2 separate regions of the Homo sapiens genome follow, and region 1 is linked to region 2. The links are contacts of gene promoters, found by promoter capture Hi-C in human tissues and cell types (Jung and others, 2019). All regions are on one chromosome and are shown on one strand. Each heading gives the region's core, a stretch centred on a gene start or on the middle of the fragment in contact. The rest is flanking DNA. Distances are from core to core; before and after follow the strand shown. Region 1 overlaps SLC7A2 (solute carrier family 7 member 2). Region 2 holds the start of PDGFRL (platelet derived growth factor receptor like).

Evidence for each region. The method cuts DNA at HindIII sites, captures the fragments that hold promoters and counts their contacts. A contact is called where the count stands out against the background at its distance.
Region 1: a contact is called between a fragment that was not itself captured here and the fragment with the promoter of PDGFRL in region 2, in 1 of the 25 tissues and cell types used here (aorta).

What each region holds. Positions count from the first base shown.
Region 1 is chr8:17,529,394-17,532,584 of GRCh38, forward strand. The region is part of intron 2 of SLC7A2 (solute carrier family 7 member 2); the gene reads left to right. Among named protein-coding and RNA genes, the nearest start is that of SLC7A2, 34 kb to the left of the region's middle. The HindIII fragment of the contact is 3,060 bases long and covers 1-2,982 here.
Region 2 is chr8:17,575,462-17,578,465 of GRCh38, forward strand. It overlaps PDGFRL (platelet derived growth factor receptor like), which reads left to right and starts at 1,755. Exons shown (of 6, transcript NM_001372073.1): 1 at 1,755-1,846. The coding sequence starts at 1,792. RefSeq lists silencers at 1,961-2,020, 2,111-2,160. The HindIII fragment of the contact is 19,467 bases long and covers 1-3,004 here.

The DNA of each region.
Region 1 (3,191 bases), core at 203-2,702, 46 kb before region 2:
ATATATAGCAGTTTTCCCTTCATTGGGGATGGGGGAGCAAGAGGACACATTGTATAAGCAAGTGTCAATCCTACCCAAGTGCCATGGGGCTCAGTCTCTACGGAGGGACATTTTCTTTGTTTTTGGTTTTGTTTTTTTGTTTTTTTTTTTTTTGAGAGATAGAGTCTTGCTCTGTCACCCAGGCTGGAGTGCAGTGATGTGATCTTGGCCCACTGCAACCTCTATCTACCTCCTGGGTTCAAGAGATTCTCCTGCCTCAGCCTCTCGATTAGCTGGGATTATATGTGTCCACCACCATGCCCAGCTAATTTTTGTATTTTTAGTAACGATGGGGTTTTACACCATGTTAGCTAGGCTGGTCTCGAACTCCTGGCCTCAAGTAATCCGCCCACCTTGGCCTACCAACATGCTGGGATTACAGGTGTGAGTCACCACGCCTGGCCCAGAGGGACATTTTCAAAGAAGCTGCCAAAAGTCCCTTGAAAAGGAATTTCAACCTTCCCTTGTGTTAGGCTGGTGGGTGCAGAAGTAATTGCTGTTTTGCCATTAAAAGCAGTAGCAAAAACTACGATTACTTTTGCACCAACCTAATACGTCTTGAAGGAGACCCCATTTGCATTCAACACCAGCACTTCTCCACACCCTCTTATCTCTCTTGCCGGCTTCTCTTGGCAGGTGAATGAGCGGGAGGTTCTCATTTTTCAGGCTGCTAGCTTTTCCCTGCCTCCTACCCCGTGCTATATAAATAAGCCTGGTTTCTTAGCTTTAATTTTCTACGTTCCCCCCTGCCCCCCATCCCCGGTCCGCCGCTGCTTCTTTGAGTCAGAAGGAAAGCTCAGGAGCTGACAGAGAGGATAAGAAAGAACCTTCTTGCTGTGTCCCTGCAGTAGCTCGGATGGCCTGGGAGCCGGGACAGAGGGAGAGGGCAAGGGGGCAAGGTGGGGGCAGCTGGATACATGCAGTTCAGTCAAAACCTTTTCACCTTTATGTGAGCCAGAAGACTTATGTGCTAAGGGTAGTAGGAGGACAAACTGGGCTACAGTACTCGTTGGAGAATAGCAACATGCAGGGCTAGAAAGCCAGGCTGGGGCCAGGTCACAGAGGGATGGTTTGGAAACCCAGGCAAGTTGCTGAAGTTAGTTGGCAGAAGGCAGATTAGGTACAAGTGTGAGTAAATAGATTTTTTTTTTTTTTTTTGAGACAGGGTCTCTCTCTGACACCCAGCCTAGCATGCGGTGGTGCAATCTCGACTCACTGCAACTTCTGCCTCCTAGGTTCAAGCGTTTCTCCTGCCTCAGCCTCTTGAATAGCTGGGACTACAGGGACGTGCCACCATGCCTGGCTAATTTTTGTACTTTTAGTAGAGACGGGTTTCGCCATGTTGGTCAGGCTGGTCTCAAACTCCTGACCTCAAGTGATCCTCCTGCCTTGGCCCCCCAAAGTGCTGGTAGTACAGGTGTGAGCTACTGCATCCAGCCAGTAAGTAGATTCAAAGCCTTAAAACTGAAATCTCATTCTTTATATAATAATTTAAATTTAATAAGCATTAATTGTTATTTTAAAGTATGCTGATATTTCTAAATATTTCTAAGCGTATTTAAAATGAAGGAAGGCTAATTCATTTACAAATCTCCATACGGTGTGGTTTCAAATAATTGCTTCCTCTTCTGTCATTGAAAGTCAGGGCTGGGAGATAACAGGGCTGGTTTCCTGGAAATGGTGTAATTCAGAGCCTAAGATAGGATATCTCTCTCTCTGTCTGCATCTTAGTGCTGAAAGACCTGAAGGTCAGATGAAACTCCTCTTTATAAAGAAGCAGCAAGAGCGGGGAGGAAGGGAGTTTCTCTCTCTTCTTACAGTCTTCTTATTTGAAAATACTGCAGCTGTACAATGGCCGTATATTGTATGTAATACAAGGCCACTATAAAGGTTTTAGAGGACAGAAAAATAAGTTATAGTTTAGGTTTCGTTTTGGGGTAACAAAAGATTAAAAAATGAGTGTTGTTAAAAAGAAATTTGAGAAACTCCATGAGTAGTATGATATATGTGTATATGGATATATTTTTTAAATTTTTGCTTAGATTGCAGGGTGTCTAATGCCTTTTATTTTTATGAATTATATTCTTTGTAAAACCTACTTTTCACACTTTATTTAAATATTTTAAAATTCCTATTGATCAATGATTCCAAAATAGTTTTTATATTTATGAGATGGTTTGAATTTTAAATTTTATAGTAACTTAAGCTATTATTATTCAGAATTAAAAATCAAAATGCATGTTTTTAGGAATTTCTGATTAAGACTTTATAGACTAATATGATTATTTTAAGGGTTTTTTTTTCTACTTATCAGGGAAATAACTATAGTTGCCATTAAATTTTTGTGCAAAAATTCAAGATCTTTTTCCAAGGAAGGAATTGTTTCAAGTAAAGTAACAAAGAGGAAAATTTGGACTTCTAATTGATTTTAGAAGTGACTGATTAAATAAATTGTCAAAATTTCAAAATGAGTCTTAAAGATTATGGATATTTCTTAGTTAATAAAAAAATGTGGCTGGGCACGGTGGCTCATGCCTATAATCCTAACACTTTGGGAGGCTGAGGTGGGCAGATCACCTGAGGTCAGGAGTTCGAGACCAGCCTGGCCAACGTGGTGAAACCCCATCTCTACTAAAAAAGCTACAAAAATTAGCCAGGTGTGGTGGCGGTGCCTGTAATCCCAGCTACTTGGGAGGCTGAGGCAGGAGAATCACTTGAACCCGGGAGGCGGAGGTTGGAGTGAGCTGAGATTGCGCCACTACACTCCAGCCTGGGCAACAGGGCAAGACTCTATCTCAAAAAAAAAAAAAAAAAAAAAAAAAAAAAACCCCAGCAATTCTAGGGAGGAATAATGGCTGAAGAATCAGATTAGTCATGGCTTTCCCCAGGAAAGCTTCCCTGCTGCCTCCTGACCCCAATCCCAGTGTGAGCATGGAGTCCCCTCCTGTGTGTGCCAGTAGTACCCTGGACTTCCCTTACCCACAGACATCAAGCTTTATGGTAATGGCCAGTTTACTTGTCCTTTTGTACCTGTATCCCCTTGCCTCCTGGAATTTTGTTTGGAAATTGCCTTTAGATTATTTTTTTGCTTTTTTTGAAATGTCTTAAGTCTTGATCTTTTAGAGAAACTGACAGTTTGTTGAACAGCTAAT
Region 2 (3,004 bases), core at 505-3,004:
TAGGCAGATTTACTCTCTCCTGTGTGCATGCTCCAAGTCCTTTGCTCAGAATTCTCCCCAGAACCTGACACACCACATTGCAGTGGTCTAAATGCTTGTTCACTCCTTAAAAGTAGCCATGAGAGATGATGTCTCAACCTTCATAGCCGTAATGTTAATCACATAGCAAACTCCTGTTGAAATAATCACCTAGTTCCCTTTCTTAATAAACAAGAGATGCTAAAACCCAGAAGGTTAAGTGAATTCTGAGAGGCATGGAGAGTTTGTGCCAGTGTCAGCATCTGAACTCTGGTCTTTATTCCCAGCCAACTGCTCTCTGCATCGCAAGGCAAGCGAGTGGCAAAGCTCCGGCTAGAGCTGGCAACAGAATATAGAATTCTTGGTTCCTCCTGCAGAAGTGACTGAGAAGCATTAGTTTGTTATAAATGGCAGCACTTCTTTCGTTGGGTGTTGAGGGACAAGTCCCTTTCCTGTTATTTAGAATTGAGCTCCCTTTAATAGCAGTGCCTGGTGCTGAAGATTACAATGAGATGGGCTGCTTCTCACCGGGGGAACACACACAGGCATCTCCCCCGCTAGCAAACTGCTTTGATCATGAGAGTCTGCAAGCTCAGAAACGCAGGATGGCTCTCTGCAGAGGGACTTGTGAAAGCCCGTATCTTCTGCCCCACTGTTACCTGATAGAGTTGTCCAGGTTCTTGGCCTGTTGAACAAAAAATTGAACGAAATGCACGGAGTAACGAAAGAAAGAAGCAAGGAAAAACAAAGCAACAGAAGGGAGGAAGGAAAACGTAGATTTATAGAAGACAATTCACAGAGGGCGCTGCAGCAAGCCACAAGAGCCTGACGCTCCCCAGGGATTTTATAAAGCGAAAAGAACTTGGCAACACCCTTGGGTTCCCTTTAGAGGCCTCCAACTGGTTACACCTTACGAAGGACTGGCCTGCGACCAGTCCGAGGCTGAAGTGGAAACTTCTGCCTTGTTATCAGAGGAGCGAGGATGTGGCCTGTGTGCCGCCTAATCATGCCTAGAACTGTCTGCACCTGCTGATCTTTTGCTTCTGCGAACTGGCTGCACCTGCTGTTCTCCTGCTCATACCCTAGCCCGTGCTTACCCTAATTCCCTGTTCTCCTGCCTCACCACCAGAGGCCCGGGTTGTCTGCACAGTCTCATTTTCCACGTTATTCCTGTAATGAACCCGTCCTCCCACCCCCACCAGCAGTTACAGGGCTGGGTGCGGAGACCAACTCTGGCCAGACACAGAGGAGCAGCAAGAACCCGGGGCAACGGTCCTGTGAGTGAGTGCATGTGGGGGAGAGAAATGGAATGAACAGAAATAATTTAGGAAGCACTTTTTACAGAGCACTCAGGTTCTGCCTGAGGAGGTGGGGCGGGCGCTGGTAACATTTGGACAATCGTGGTTAAAAGTGACCCCATCAGCACCCGCTGATCCTTCTTGAACTTGATAACCTTGGTGAAAACGCCAAGCGTTGGAGAAATTCAAGGAATGGCTGTTGTAATGTACATTTCACGCTTAGCCTTTCCTCCCCGCGCTGGGAAGAAGTGCTGCGCACCGCGGCTCCGCCAGGGGGCAGGAGAAGTCACATTACACAGAGAACTAAAAAAAAAAAAAATTCCCCAACTTTTTCCCCCAAACCTTGTTCCTCCTGAAGAAACCGAATCCTCCCGCTTCGGCGTCCCAGGAGCCCGCCCCTCGCCCGCCGCCTCCCCTGCGTCCCCGCCCCGCGCAGCCGCCGCGCTCCTGCGCTCCGAGGTCCGAGGTTCCCGAGATGAAGGTCTGGCTGCTGCTTGGTCTTCTGCTGGTGCACGAAGCGCTGGAGGATGGTGAGTGACTCTGGGCGCGGGGCCACCTAGCTTGTGCCCTGACTTTAGCCGGGACCCGAAGCCCCCGCCGCCCTCCTGCCAGCTCTTGGTCTAACGTTCGGCCCTCGGTGGCTCAGCCCCCGCGCCACTGCCTGCCCGGTGCACCTGCCCCCTCCTGGTGGGGTCTCCTTTCCTCCCACTCTTTGCCTGCCCGGAGAGCCCTCTAGGGGTGGTGGCAGCTACCCCGACCCTTAGGAGCCCACCAGGACCTCTCCAAGTCCCCATCTCCGGGCGAACCAAGCATCCCCAGCCAGCGCCTGGTCCAGCCCCCAGTGTCAACGTGTCGGTCTGGGAGGTGGGGCGGGAGCCTCGGATCGCTTCCACCTCCCAGCGGCGTGGCTGGGACCTCTGCTGCTGAGAGCGAGTGCCACCTAAGCTCGGCAATCGCTGATTCGGTTGCAGAGTTCCAGGTGACCTCCCCCTCCCCTCGCAGTTCTGGGCGTGTTTTCGTCTACCACCTTTTGCTTGAATCCTGCAAGATCTGCCTAGATCTTCGAACAAAAATGTCAGTGTATGAAACTTCAAAACGAATCAAAAGCCCACGGCTTATTATATTTATCTAATTGGATGGGAAATGGTGAAGAAAATGCATTTTTTTGGTACAGCTTATGGGACCATGACCGCTGCGCGTTTTTGAATGTGTACCTGTCCTGGGTCCACCCTGTCGTGTACACCCGTGACCACAGGGTCTGGTGTTATTTTTCTGTGTGTCTGGGTGTGTGTATTACTGTGGTGTGTATTATATATTATTGTTAGCATTTAAATGTTTTGTTTGCTCTATTCACTCCATGGGTGTTATTTGTACAGTACATGTTTCATCTGGGTGCCTCCTGGTGTCCTCAACCCTCTCTTGAAATTCCTGGGCTACAACACAATTTTTGCTTAGATTTAGTGGAAAAGTAGCTTTTGCTGTTATGCAACTTCATGCTGGAGCCAGCTCGACCTGGCTCACATTTTTATCCACTCGTTCATCCTGACCAGTTCCTTTCTTTCCTAGGAAACTACATTTGCCAAAAAAATACCGCATTGTAGTTTGCAAAATCCAAGATAGTCGTGGTACTTGAAGTTGAGCATGAGGGTCCTTCAGCCTAGAGCTTTGCTTAATAAAACGTAGGCAGA